2 separate regions of the Homo sapiens genome follow, and region 1 is linked to region 2. The links are contacts of gene promoters, found by promoter capture Hi-C in blood cells and fetal thymus (Javierre and others, 2016). All regions are on one chromosome and are shown on one strand. Each heading gives the region's core, a stretch centred on a gene start or on the middle of the fragment in contact. The rest is flanking DNA. Distances are from core to core; before and after follow the strand shown. Region 1 overlaps LOC107985958 (a long non-coding RNA gene). Region 2 holds the start of XIRP2-AS1 (XIRP2 antisense RNA 1).

Region 1 (7,068 bases), core at 2,638-5,137, 570 kb before region 2:
ACTGAATTAGTTTGGGTCCTAATCCTACATGACTGGTATCCTTGTAAGAAAAGAGAGACAGAAGATACACAGAGAGAAAGCCAGATAATTCAAGGAGAGAATGGAGTGATTCATCTATAAGCCAAGGAGCACCAAGAATTGCTGGTAACATCAGAAGCTAAAGAAGGCATGGAACAGATTTTTCCCTAGAGACCTCACAGAGAGCATGGACCTGTTGATACTTCCCAGCTTCCAGAACTGTGAGAAAATACATTTATTTTAAGCCACCCCGTTTGTGGTAATTTGTTACCACAGTCCTAAGAAATAATATATCAAGATTTCTATGACAGGCATGGCTTTCCTTTAAGTCAAAGGAGACTTCATTAAAAACACGTGAGCCAGGCATGGTGACTCACACCTGTAACCTCAGCTACTTGGGAGGATGAAGCAGGAAGATCACCTGATCCTAGGAGTTCAAGGTTGCAGTGATTGCACCATGGCACTCCAGCTCTGGCAACAGAAGGAGACCTCAGCCCTATATGTGTGTGTCTGTGTGTGTGTGTCTGTGTGTGTATTTGACTTGGTAATAGGTTAATATGTTAGCATCCATTAACACATCTTCCAGAAAACAGATTCTCAGAAGAAGTAAAACAAAATCAGATACACTTTTGATGAGAATAAGCATTATTACAAAGTATGGAAAATCTGTCCTAAAAGAAGTGATATAGCTGAAGTCTGACCATTGTATTCCCTATTTATTCACAGGGTAGAGTGAGGGCCTAGTAACTGGAAAAAATATATATACGTTAAATAGCAATCAGAGTGCTGGAAACACATACGTAATTTAACATTGTGTTGAGGAGTAGAGCAAAAACATTAAAACATTATTGTGATACTTCCATTAAGACCAAGGATAAGAGGAAATCGGATAAAGAAATTCATTGCATTGACTAGAAACGGACACCTTTAAACATCATAATATTCAATATTTGCTGATGTTAGAATTAAATGTAGATAACAGAACATTACTAGAAGTAGTGTTCAATAAATTGAACTAAATTATTACTTAACATGTAATATAATGATAATATCAATACAAATGATATAGTGATAAAGAATAAATATTTATATGCTAAGAAGATCATTTGAAAACTATAATCATCTGGAATAATTTATTTTATCTAATCCTTGCATAAAACTTCATTGAGATTTTATGTCTGCTATAGCTATTTAAGCCAAAGCCCTGAAGATAAATTACTATGGGAGAAAGCTACTCTGGAATGAAAACTCTTGCAATTTTAATAAAACAGAACTCATAACTGCAATTTTAATAAAACAGAACTCATAACTACAATTTTAATATGTTCTGTGAAACAATTTTTTTATCAAATTCATTTGTTTCGTTATATCCCAATGACAAAAAGGACCAAATTGCTCTGGGTGAGTCAGGGAATGAGTGGTGAGTGAACGTAAAGGCCTAGGACATTATTATACATGACTATAGACTTTATAAACATTGTACAGTCTCCACTCAATTTACTAAAACACTTTTTTCTTCAATAATAAGTTAGCTTAGTGTAACTTTTTTATTGTATAAACATTTTAATTAAATTTTTTGACTCTCAAAATAATAGTTTAAAACACAAACACAATGTACAGCAGTACAAAAATATTTTCTTTAAGCATTCTTCCATTTTTAAAATTATTTATTTTACTTTTTAACCTTTTTTGTTAAAAAAGTAGACACAAACACACACATTAGCCTAGGCCTACATAGAGTCAAGATAATATCACAGTTTTCTACCTTTATATTTTTTTCACTTTAATGTCTTCAGGCGCAATCAACATGCATGGAACTGTCATCTCCTATGATAATAATGCCTTCTTGTGGCATACCTCCTGAACCTGCTTAAGACTGTTTTACAGTTAACTTAAAAAAATAAGTAGAAGGAGTACACTATAATTGGAGATGTATTCTCCATAGATCCTGGTCTGAATCCATCATGTAACGTTCTGGCAGGAATGGATGAACATGCTAGGAAACAATGCAAAATGAGCTATACAACAAACACTGCAAAGCAAATAAAAAAGTTTATTGCCATGAAAAAGGTCAACATACCCTTGAGTAGAAAAATTATACATGGAAAAAACATTCAGAGTATTAAAGTAATTTGAGGCCACTTTAAAGTGAATTCGTTTAAAATTTTCAAAAGGCATCTATAAAATGGCCAAGAGATTGTAAACTAATAGATGAACATGTAAAAAGAGCTAAGAATATGTTAGAAAATTAGAATCCTTTACATTTAAAAATCAATAAATAAGTAGTAAATTAAACATAGCTGAATAAAGAATTAGTACATTTGATAATACATTTAGGTACAAATAAATGGAAAGATACTCAGTTTCCATGGATTGGAAGAAGGTCCATACTACTCAAAGAAGTCTATAGATCCAAAGCAAAATTCCAATGACATTTTTTCAGAAATGGAAGAAACAATCCTAAAATGTGTACAAAGCCATGAAAGGTTAGGAATACCTGAAGAAATCTTGAGCAAAAGAACAAGCTGGAGGCATCACACTACCTAATATCAGAATCAGTTACAAGCTGTAATAATCAAAACAGCAAGGTACTGGCACAAAACCAGACATATAGACCAATGAAACAGAATAGAGGCTCCAGAAATAAATCTATGCAATTCTCTTTTGATAATGATATTAAAAATACATATTGGAGAAAAGATAAAATTTTTAAAAGTGGTATTGGGAAAACTGGATGTGAAGAAAAAGAAAATTAGACCCTTATCTCATACCATATTAAAAAAATCAATGGAAAATGAATTAAGGACTAAAATTTAAGGTCTGAAACTGTAAAATAACTGGAAGAAAACACATAGGAAAAGCTTTATGACATTGGTCTAAGCAATGAGTTTTTGGCAATGACCATAAAAGCCCAGGCAACAAAATCAAAAATAGAAAAATGAAATTACATCAAACTAAAAACCTTTTTCACTGCCAAGGAAACAATCAACAGAATGCAGAGACAACTTAAAAAAATGGACAATATTTATAAACCATATTTCTAATAAGGGGTTAATATCCAAAATGTGTAAGGAATTCAAACAACTGAATAGCAAACAAACAAACAACAACAAAAAAAAAACACTTAAAAATGCGCAAAGGTTGTGAGTAGACATTTCTCCAAAGAAGACATGTAAATAGCCAACAAATATATAGAAAGATGCACGACCTCACTAATCATCAAGGAAATGCAATTAAAACCAAAATAAGATATCACGTCACACCTGTTAGAATGGCTATTCTCAAATAGAGAAAAGATAACAACTGTTTTGTGAGGGTACAGAGAGAAGAGAATCCTTATACATTGTTGGTAGAAATGTAAATTAGCATAGCCATTATGGAAAACAGTATGGAGATTTCTCAAAAAATTAAAAATAGAACTACCTGATGATTCAGCAAGCCCACTAGTGGGTATGTATCCAAAAGAAATGAAATCAGTATGTCAAAGAGATATCTGCACTTCCATGTTCATTGCAGCCTTATCCTCAATTGCCATGATATGGGATCAACCTAATTGTTGTCCTTCAGCAAATGAATGGATAAAGAAAATGCGGTATATACACACAATGAAATACTATTCTACCCTAAAAAAAGAAGGAAATCCTGTTATTCTCGAAAACATAGATGAACCTAGAGGAAATTATGCTAATTGAAATAAACCAGACACAGAAACAAATACCACATCCTCTCACTTATACGTGAAATCTAAAAAGGTGAAACTCACAGAAGCAGAGAATAGAATGGTGGTTACCAGGTTTTGGGGGTTAGGAGATGGAGACTAGGGAGGTCTTGGTCAAAAGATACAAAATTTCAGTTAGACAGGAAAAATAAGTTTAAGAGATCGACTATGCAACATGGCCACTATAGCTAATAATATATTGTGTACTTAAAAATTGCTGAGATAGGTTTTAACTGCTTTTATCCCAAAAAAACAAGTGTATGAGATGGTGTGTATGTTAAATAGCTTGATTTTTGCTATTCTATAACGTATGCATGTTTTAAAACATCACGCTGTATACCATAAATATATATAATTTTAAATTATCAATTAAAATAAATACATAAAATCATGTAAATTTCCAGAGTGTAACAAAATTAGGACATATGAAAGAGAAATTAGTTGTATCAAGAAACAGCAGCATATAATAAACTTCAAAGAATAGGATAATAGAAAGGATGAGAAGGTGATAATCAAAGAGATAATGGCTCAGAATTTTTCAAAATTGAGAAAGAAGTGGCGAAAATTTGACAAAGCCCATTAGGTGCTAAGCAACATTAATAAAAATGAATCTACAATCAGCATACAAAAATAATGAAACATATTGAAAATATTTAAAAGTGAATATACAGATTTTCTATGGAGAAATAACAAGCATATTAAAAGCAGAGTTTATCTCAGCAACAATTTATCTTCGAAGACAATGGAATAATATCTTCAAAGTGTTGAGGGGAAAATGTCTTTAAATGTTGAGCTCTGTGTCCAAAGTGTTTATTAAGGCATTTCACACACATACAATAATCAAAACAGCTCACCACTATCAAGACAGAATAAAATAAGACCTCTCTATACAAAGAAAACAAAAGTGACAGCAAAGTTAGTCTTCTTTAAACAAATAATCTCTTTTAAATAAAAAGAAAAGCTACAGTGTAAATCATTAAGATCTACAGCATTTCTATTGATCTAGAAACTATGCTGTGAATTATTTCTTTTCACTACTAACAGAAGGTAGACATTGGGAATATTTACAACACAGGGTGTTAAGCAAAACTCTGTCTTCCCACTTATCAAGTTAAAACAGATCTTAAGACATGGAAAGTGTTCTGCATGATTGAAAGTAACAAGCTTCCTGTGCTACGTTTTCTTGACATTTAATGTTCATGATAAGAACTCGCTGCGGAAGATGAAAACATTCTGGAAATGGATAGTGGTGATGTTAATGTACTCAATGCCACTGAACTACACACATTAAAATAATAAGTTTTGCATTATGTATATTTTACTACAATAAAAAAGTTTCCAATAAAAAAGGAACTCTCAACATTTTATTTTTTATTACTAGATAAATGTGAAATTTATGTTTGTTAACATCATAAAACATTTAGAAAAGTATAAATCAGAATATGTGGCTCATTTTTAATGTAACATTGGTTCATTAATTAAATTTATTGTAAATATTCCAGATTTCACTGAAATTTAAATTAAAACCACATTACTGGAGTTTAAGACATATGTGTGGCTGCATTTCTTTTACAAGAGCTATCATTTTTCTTTTCCTTTGTATTATAAAGATTCCAATATGATTTATGTTATTTGTAACAATAGCTAAGAATATTGTATTCTCTTGCAGAAGTCTAAAAAAAAGCTTAAATAAAATTAACATATGTCTTAAGTGTTTGTTCTTCAATCTACCCACGGACTGTCATCGACAAGTTATTAAATGAAAAAGAAAAATAACTCCAGGCAAAAGAAGTGGGATTCTTGAGACAATGGTGAGAAAAAGATCATAAAATATATTGATAAACTTAATTAAAGGACTCTAAAATAAAAAATATGTGTGTACATATTTGGGACAAATATGTATTTGTTTGGGACAAAATGTGAGAGTTCAAAAAAGATTAAAGTTTGTTAAGATCCCTTTCTTCAGAAAAGAAATGTATATGCAGATTTACTTTAGAATGTATTACTATTACTGTATATTAATTAAATTTGGCTGTTTATTATTGGTAACTATTAGAAGAACAGAAAAAAATCTAACCTATATCTTTGCATATGTTAGAAATATATCAATTTTTAAATATTCTTGTATAAAATATGTATTATTCATGTATATGTTTATGTTAAAATACAAAATATTATCCAGAAACATGCACACCAAACTCACCATAGGTTGTCTCTGAAGTGGGTGCTATCAGAAAGGGTTGGTGATAGGGCTTGAAGAGAATGCTTCCTCTTACACAGTAGGGCCTTCAGTCACCTCGTTATTTTAGAATAGGGTAAAGTACCATGAACACTTCTTTCCAGCCTGTAGGTGAGGTGGGGAAAGGAAGGAGTTAAAGGGAGGATAGCAAAAAGCCATTAGACTTGCACCTCCTGGATTTTCATCTCCAGGTTTCCACTGTTTGTTGCAGGTCAGGGGAGACAGGGTTACATCAAGCAAAATTAGGTAAGTTGAGAGCAGGGGCTAGCCTATTACTCCAGGTTGATCTATCAAGTCTCAGGTGAGACTCTTTCGAGAGTTGCCTAGTACTAGCTTGGAGCATGATAATAACAAAAGGAACTTGGTAGGCCTTCTTAACTGGGCTGCAGCTGATCTTGACGTTTTTACTTTCCTACTTGGCTCTCCATTCCCATGTGGTGTGAGCTCTGACTTACATGCAGTGGGGCTGCCGTGACAAATCAACGTGACCCCAGAGCTGAGGCTGGGACAAAGGATACAGCTTCTGTTGGGGAAGTAAAATGAGACAACAAATCAGAAAAATACTTTGGCATTTAAAATAAAAATTAAACACATGCCTACCATATCATCCAAATCATTAGGTATCTGCCCCAAACAAATGAAAGCATACATCAACAGAAAGACACATACAGAATATTAATAGCAACTTTATTTGTAATAGCCAAACTTGAAAACAGCCCAAATGTCTATTAATCAATGAATAGTTAAACAAACTGTAGAATATTAACAATAACGAGAAAAATTATTGGACATTCATCCACTTAAATGGGTCTTAAAACAATAGTGACAAGTGTAAGAAACCAGATTTTAAAAAAGAGTGCAAATATATTCTTAAATTTATATATAATTCTAGAAATTGAAAAACAATCTATAGTGAGAGAAGGAAAATAAATGTTTTCCTGTGAAATTGGTGGGAAATGTCATGAGGGATGGATCTCAAAGGGCAAAAGGAAACTTGGAGATAGAAGAATTTATTATTTTGACTATGGTAATAGTAACTTGGGGTTGTACAAATGTCACAACTTTATCAAATTTTATAGTTAAATATGTACAG
Region 2 (7,260 bases), core at 1,888-4,387:
TATATTGCACAAGAACTCTAATTCCTACGTAGCAATACATTTAAAAGAAACAAAATTCTTTCATTATGGGATCCTTTTCGTTCTTTCATGGGGCCCCAAATTTCTATCTCTGTTGGGACAAGAATGAACTATTTTAATACTTAATTTAGTTAACTTGGACAGCATGCAAGTTAAACTGGACAAAACCTACAAACCAAGAGCATTTTGATATTGCTGTTTTGCTGTAAATATTTATTTTATTCCAAAAAGATAAACACATGTTTCTAAATAAAGTGTGATAACTGAAAGATTTCAGAATTTATACAATTATATGAGTGACTGTGACAGCCTTATACATTAAACATCTTAACTAGCCGCAAGAGTTTCATATTGAGGCAGTATTTATTTGTAGTAATATGAAAAACAGTAGATTTTTAAAATTACACTTATAAAAGATAATTTAAGTGCAGCTACCTAATATCCTGCATATTTAAAATTTAGTAAACAGTGTGAATTGATAACTCCATTCCAGGACTGAGGACTAGCAATGCCTGTCAGTTTGGTTCCACTCCAATATCCTCAATGGCAGAACCAGAACAGCACAGAAAGGTGCTATGATTTTCCCCAGCCTCTCTTTTTATGCCTGATGATACACTCCCAGGTTCCCAGTTTGTGGACAATTGCTCTCACCACGTCTATTTTATTTGCTCCTTTTCCTCACTTATGTATTGGTGTCAAATAAACCATAGTGCTCCCGTGTGCATGTTGGTGCATTCCATTCACATTTTCTTGGAGATACACTCTAACAGTTGTTAAAATGATTCTAGGAAGACTTAGACCATATGTCATTAAATGTCAAGCATAGCAAATCCATAATTTGACAAATTTGGGTAATTTGATAATAGATGGGATATGAAAGAAAACAAATCAATCAGTGTAAATGATTTGATTAATTGTATTATACTAATATAAAAATCTGATTCGTTGGGCTGGGCACAGTGACTCATGCCTGTAATCCCAGCATTTTGGGAGGCCAAGGCGGGCGAATCACCTAGGGTCAGGAGTTTGAGACCAGCCCCGACCAACATGGTGAAACCCCATCTCTACTAAAAATACAAAAATTAGCTGGGCATGATAGTGGGTGCCTGTAATCTCAGCTACTCGGGAGGCTGAGGCAGGAGAATCACTTGAACCTGGCAGGTGGAGGCTTCAGTGAGCCGAGATGGCGCCACTGCACTCCAGGCTGGCCAACAGAGCGAGACTCTGTCTCAAAAAATATATATATATGCATATATATACGTACGTATATATATGCATATATATATATATGATTTGTTGAATTTCTTTTAGATATTTTAAGACCAGTAAGCTAGAAAGTGAATACTGGAAGTCTTAGGTACTGGTGTTTGATCTAGATGTATGTAGAATTGAAAAATATACTCTTCCTGCTGAAAAACTCTGGATCAAGGAATGCTTCAAATATCAGAATTGAATGGGTCATGTTCATCAGATTTATATGACTTGGAGTTTTTTAATATGACAATTGCCTGCCCTTCACTTTTATTCTCTAACTCATAATTTTAATTTTAATCTTCTAAGTCATCAACATGTAAAATGTCAAAAGATAAAATATATATTCAAAGTCACTTTTTCCAGGCTTTTGCAATAAACCTTGGAAATTACCTGCTGTATTTCTCTTTTTATTCTGCTCCATTAAAACTAAATTCATTCTTTATTCTTATAATGGCCATTCATCTCCTCTGACGGGTTTTACAAAACAAACTGAGACTTCTGTTCTTTCAGTTTTCTACTGCTCTTTACGTGAGGGGATCCTTCCAGTCATTAATGTTTCTAAAATACTGTAGTATGTATATGTATTTGTGTGATTGTCATTTACATATCTTATTTTTTGTTTAAAATCAGACATTTTAGAGTAATGACGTCCAATAGAAACTTCTGTGATAATGATAATAGAAGTGTCCTATATCTGTGCGGTCCAATATGGTAACCACTAGCCACATGTAGCTATTATGCAATTAAAAAGTAGCTAGTGCAACTGACCAACATAATTGCTAATTTCATTGAATTTTAAGTAATGTTCATGTAAATCGTCATGATATTGGAAGCTGACATTCGTCCAATGAGCTGTCTACCGTTTTCATAAGAGTTGATCCAGATGCTAATTATTCATTTTAAGTGATCCTCTATCTGCCAATTTACCTTTATTAAAATGTATGTGGATAAGGAGAAAGTTCATGTTGGCAAAATAGATAAAAGGCAAATAGCAATAATTCACATATTAAAAACTTGTCTTCGAGAACTAGGGATGATCTCCTCTCTTTAGTATTTTCTGGTGATAAAATTAAGAAAAATATAATTTCAACTGTGTTCCCTTTTCAATGTGCTGATAAAGCAATAGTTTTATCATAGAAACAGAAATACTACTGTGAGGCTTTGCATTCTTTTTTCCATAACATCTTTTCTAGAGCTTAATTGTCTTGGAAATATGAATCCCCTCAGGTCAGAAGCAAACCTTTGTCTAAATACCTAAGATTAACAAAGTTAAATGAAATGGTGCAACAGGCTACTTTAAAATTAACAGCACCATTTCTTTATTAAAACAGGGCTTCTTTGGAAACTTCGGAGTAAATCAGACATTTAGTCACAGAGTAGTTCCAGCTAACACCATCGACACCATTTGTTTTGCTCTGCCTGAACTGTCCCCTCTAACGAGACTCAGAGGACAGGCTTTTATAACTGGTCTCTGGATACACGATGGTGGACCCAGGACTCCCAGCACCGGCTTCTGCTTCCGGACTTGCTTCCCTACCTACTGTACCTTATTTCATGCCCCAAATAATGTTATTTTAGTTCATACAGGAGACATTTCATTAGGAAAAATATTGTCAGTGGATCACCATCTAAAACAATTCTGTGGTGATGGCCTTTGTAAAATAAAGAATCCATTTTTTGTATCAGTAATCATCTCTAATTGATCTGCTTACCCAATTAAGTGTTTCTCTTTCTTACAGTCAGATCCACCTGCAGATTTTTGATGACTCCCACATGTTCCTTTTAGTCACTATTACAGTCAGTGAGTCAAAACACATTCCAGAGTTAAGTCATGGCCCAGTAAGAAGGGGCAGCTGGGAGTTTGCTATTCTGAGGACTGTGTAATGAAAGGTCTATTCATGAGGTCGTTCACGTGGTAACTATAAATCAGCACCTTGGAATGCTGGAAAATTTCCAAAATCCCAGGAACTCATTTTGAGCTTGCACGCGGTCATATTTAATTTTAAAACATGAGGCCATTGAAGAAAGATAACAACAAATTTAAGTATACCTTTAAAAAATCATTCATTCACTTTACTACCCTGAAATTGGAAAAAACTAAATATTATTTTTAATATTCTGACTGTAGAATGTCAGAAATGTGTACATATTTCTACCAAATATTTTTGATGTGCTGTTTTCATTTGCCCATTCATCTGTTCATTCATCAAACAAATAAGTATTGAGTGCCTATTTGTGGCAGGAACTATTCTAGGTGCTTGGAGACATCAATGAATGAAAGACAAAAAGAAAAAGAAAAAATCCTGCCCATGGAGCATATTTTCTAACAGGAGATCATACATTGGATGAAAAAATAATGAAGAAGTAAATGGTATATCGGAAGACAGCAAGTGCTATAGAAAACATAGGCCAGGATAGTGGGAATGGTGCATGATGGAAATTCCTAATTTTAATTAGGATGATGAGAATCAGCCACACGGGAAGGTGACATTTAAACTAAGACTTGAATAAGTAAATATTCTCAGTGCTTTGGGAGGCCAAGGAAGGAGGATTGCTTGAGGTCAAGAGTTCAAGACCAGCTTGGGCAACATAGCAACACTCCATCTCTACAAAAAATAAAAAATTAGCTGGGCTTGCGGCACATACCTGTAGACCCAGCTACCAGGGAGGCTGAGGCAGGAGGATCCCTTGAGTCCTGGAGTTCAAGGTTACAGTTAGCTAAGATCATGCCACTGCACTCCAGCCTGGGTGACAGAGCAAGACCCTGTCTCAAAAATAAAATATAGAAAAGAAAATATACATAGTTATATTTTGTTAAAGGCAAATGTATCTCCTAAGGTTTGAGGCAGAATATTCTCTGAATGATCCCAGGCCCCCTAGTTGGAGCAACTATATTGCTGATTTTTTGCAGTCACTTGAAGATAGAGGAAACATACCGCAGTAAAATCCTCATATCTTGCCACTGTCACCAATGGGAAGTGTGTGGAATCACTCCTACCCTGGTTTATCAGTCTGCACCTTGTGGATTTCTGATATTGTTCTATTCTGTTCTACAGGGAATAGGCCAAGAAAGGAGAGCAGAGGGCAAAAAGTTCAGGTAGAACCGCAGGGCTGACTGAGGGCTTGGAGCCCACACATGAGAGCCAAACCAGGAATTAGTTATTATAAGAAAGGTACAGGCCGGGCACAATGGCTCACGCTTATAATCCCAAAACTTTGGGAGGCCAAGGTGGGCAGATCATGAAGTCAGGAGTTTGAGACCAGCCTGGCCAACATGGTGAAACCCCGTCTCTACTAAAAATACAAAAATTAGCTGGGCATAGTGGCATGCACCTGTCGTCCCAGCTACTCGGGAGGCTGAGGCAGGAAAATGGCTTGAACCCGGGAGGTGGAGGTTGCAGTGAGCTGAGATCATGCCACTGCACTCCAGCCTCATGACAGAGCAAGGCTCCATCACAAAAAATAATAAAAAATAAAAAAATAAAAAAAAAGAGAGAAAGAAAGGTACATGGGATTTGTGTTACCTAATGGGTTTGAAATTAGAATGTCAGTACAAAGCTGAAACACAAGAATCCCACTTCTTAAACTGAGTTCATGACTCCATGTATCTATTCAGGTTGGCATGGCTCATGTGACTGTCAATGCTCCAAAATAAAGACGTTAGAAGTTCACAAGTGCAGACGGTGCTATGCCAGAGAAGTTTGATGACAGGTATTGGTGATACAATCCTAGCAAGACTGAGTTTAAGAATAAAAAGCCCAGTCACTAAGGATTAGGGCATGGCTAAAAGAAACTCAGTGTTCTGGGGCAGTGATTTTGAAAAAATGGAAAGAAGGAAAGGAAGGAGGAAGGGAAGGAGGGAAGGATGAAGGGAGAGAGAAAAAGATGGAGAGAGGAATGGAGGAACAAAGGCAGGAAGAGAAGTGGGAAAAATAAAGCAGTTTTATGAAGCTTTTGAGAAGTAGCTAGAATTCAGTTACTCATGAATTCTTTTCGGTATCAGAGGCGAACACAGAATGGGAGCAGTAGTAAAATCCATAAATTCAGCAAATATTTACTGAACAGGTACTATGGACCTGCCCCTGTGCTTGGCACTGGGGCTACAGGTATGTGAAGACACAGCCCCTGCCCCTGAGTAGCTTATAGTTTAAGAAAGGTGGCAGGTTCATAAACAGATGTCAACACTAGGAGATGAACAGTGCTACAGTAAAAGATACAGGAAGCAACTACTTATGTCCGTGGGCCCACAGATGCTTCATAGAAATGCTGATTTTTTAAAGTGTTTTTGAAGCATGACTGGGAGTTGACCAAGAGGAGAAAGAACGCATGTGTGAGAAGGAGGGATAGGAGAAAGGGTGGAAATTCCAAGTAGATCCTGCAAAACCATGAAGGGATACGGAAAGTAAGCAATTTGGAAGAAAATAGGGACACTTCCATATGTTTGATGCTTAACAGCTCATTTCAATTAATGTCTTTATAGACCCTTGAGCTGGGGCCAGAGTGGGTGCTAGATTCTAAGCTATGAGTGAAACAATTCCAGCTGAGGTTAATTAGACTCAGCTGCCAGGTTAGGAAGACAGGTTTGCATGAAAAGGAAAAACTTGGTTTTTCTACTTTCAGAAATATGCTCGTTGACATATTTTAACAATTTTCGCCAATTAAAGGAGTGAAATATTTGGTGACTTTTCACCATCGTAAAAAAAAAACCACAATATTCTAGAGAAACCCTGTGTATTTCTAGATATTTCAGACATGGGCAATAGAAAAAAAGCCACTACATAAATTAGCTAATTAGCAATGTTACTCTTTAAAATTCAATTTTCAAAATATTTGAAGTTTTTAATGTATTTTTATTTTCAAGAGTTAAGCCAAATACTTTTATTTAAAATGTCTATTGTCTCTACATTATTCATTATAGACATTTAATATTAGAAATACTTCACTATATGAAATAAAATTTAATTATAAATTTTTAACTTTTAAACCTAACTTCTTATTTCTTTTTAATGTAGTTTCACATGCCCTTTAAAATATATAATATACATAATGCAATATAAGAATAACTTAACTAATATATGTGAAAACACAGATAATAATAACACATAAACTTTTCTCTTTGAGAAGTTACATTTACAAAGAGCCACGTGTTTCTATTTTTGGCTCTTTTTCTACAGCCATAAATATGGAGATAGGGCTAAAATAATGTTCTATGAATAAATTCTGCATGTCACTGTTATGATTCTTTATTTACAACTTCCTAACTGATGAAATAGTATATGAGGACTCATAACAGTACACGTAGTCCTAGCCAGAGGGTCTCAGGAATTGTTGAAGAATACCACATAACTTTGTACTGGCTAAGACAAACAGCCAGTCGTTCTATTTTTTGAAGATCATCTTTAAAAAAAAAAATCAGATTTTGCCAAACACAATAGGAAACTCACTCTGTTAATTGTTTTGTTTAATATTTCAGCACTTAACATTCTAGATAGTTTCTGACTTATTATGAGATATGTAATCATTCTCTAGTGACGTGATAAGACCATTGCTTTCCATACACTTCAGGGAAGAACTTGATATATCACCTCCAAATCTTTTTATGTCATCACTTCACAATACTTCTGACTCATTGCTTAAATATCTTCACTCTTCATCCCTAATAATGACATATTGCCTTTTGGGATATGGCATCAGAATATGAAGCCAATTGCTTCATAGTTATATTGTACGTGGGAAGCTATTAAGAAACTTTAATGTCCCTAGATTTTGCATAGAATAATTCAGATTAAAAACTTTGAGTGGAAGTTCAGATGGTCATACTTTTTAACTAATCAAGTTAAGAATTCTGGTGAGTTTAAATAACTGCTGCATTGGAAGTTGGAAACTATTTTTCTTGATGGTTTGCTGTGGATATTTGAATCGCTATCCTTGTACTGCATCAAAAGATAACCTTGTCTTTGCTCATTCCTGGTGTTTTTTGCTTATGCC

Evidence for each region. Contacts are between HindIII fragments. The CHiCAGO score rates a contact against its expected background, and 5 or more counts as called.
Region 1: a contact is called between a fragment that was not itself captured here and the fragment with the promoter of XIRP2-AS1 in region 2, in 1 of 17 cell types (M2 macrophages). The highest score is 5.1, in M2 macrophages.

What each region holds. Positions count from the first base shown.
Region 1 is chr2:166,563,686-166,570,753 of GRCh38, forward strand. It overlaps LOC107985958 (a long non-coding RNA gene), which reads right to left. Exons shown (of 4, transcript XR_001739762.1): 3 at 6,431-6,498; 4 at 5,232-6,080. Among named protein-coding and RNA genes, the nearest start is that of SCN7A, 73 kb to the left of the region's middle. The HindIII fragment of the contact is 2,021 bases long and covers 2,878-4,898 here.
Region 2 is chr2:167,137,818-167,145,077 of GRCh38, forward strand. XIRP2-AS1 (XIRP2 antisense RNA 1) reads right to left here and starts at 3,138. Exons shown (of 2, transcript NR_046665.1): 1 at 2,985-3,138. The region is part of intron 3 of XIRP2 (xin actin binding repeat containing 2); the gene reads left to right. RefSeq lists an enhancer at 2,475-3,674. The HindIII fragment of the contact is 5,412 bases long and covers 1-5,221 here.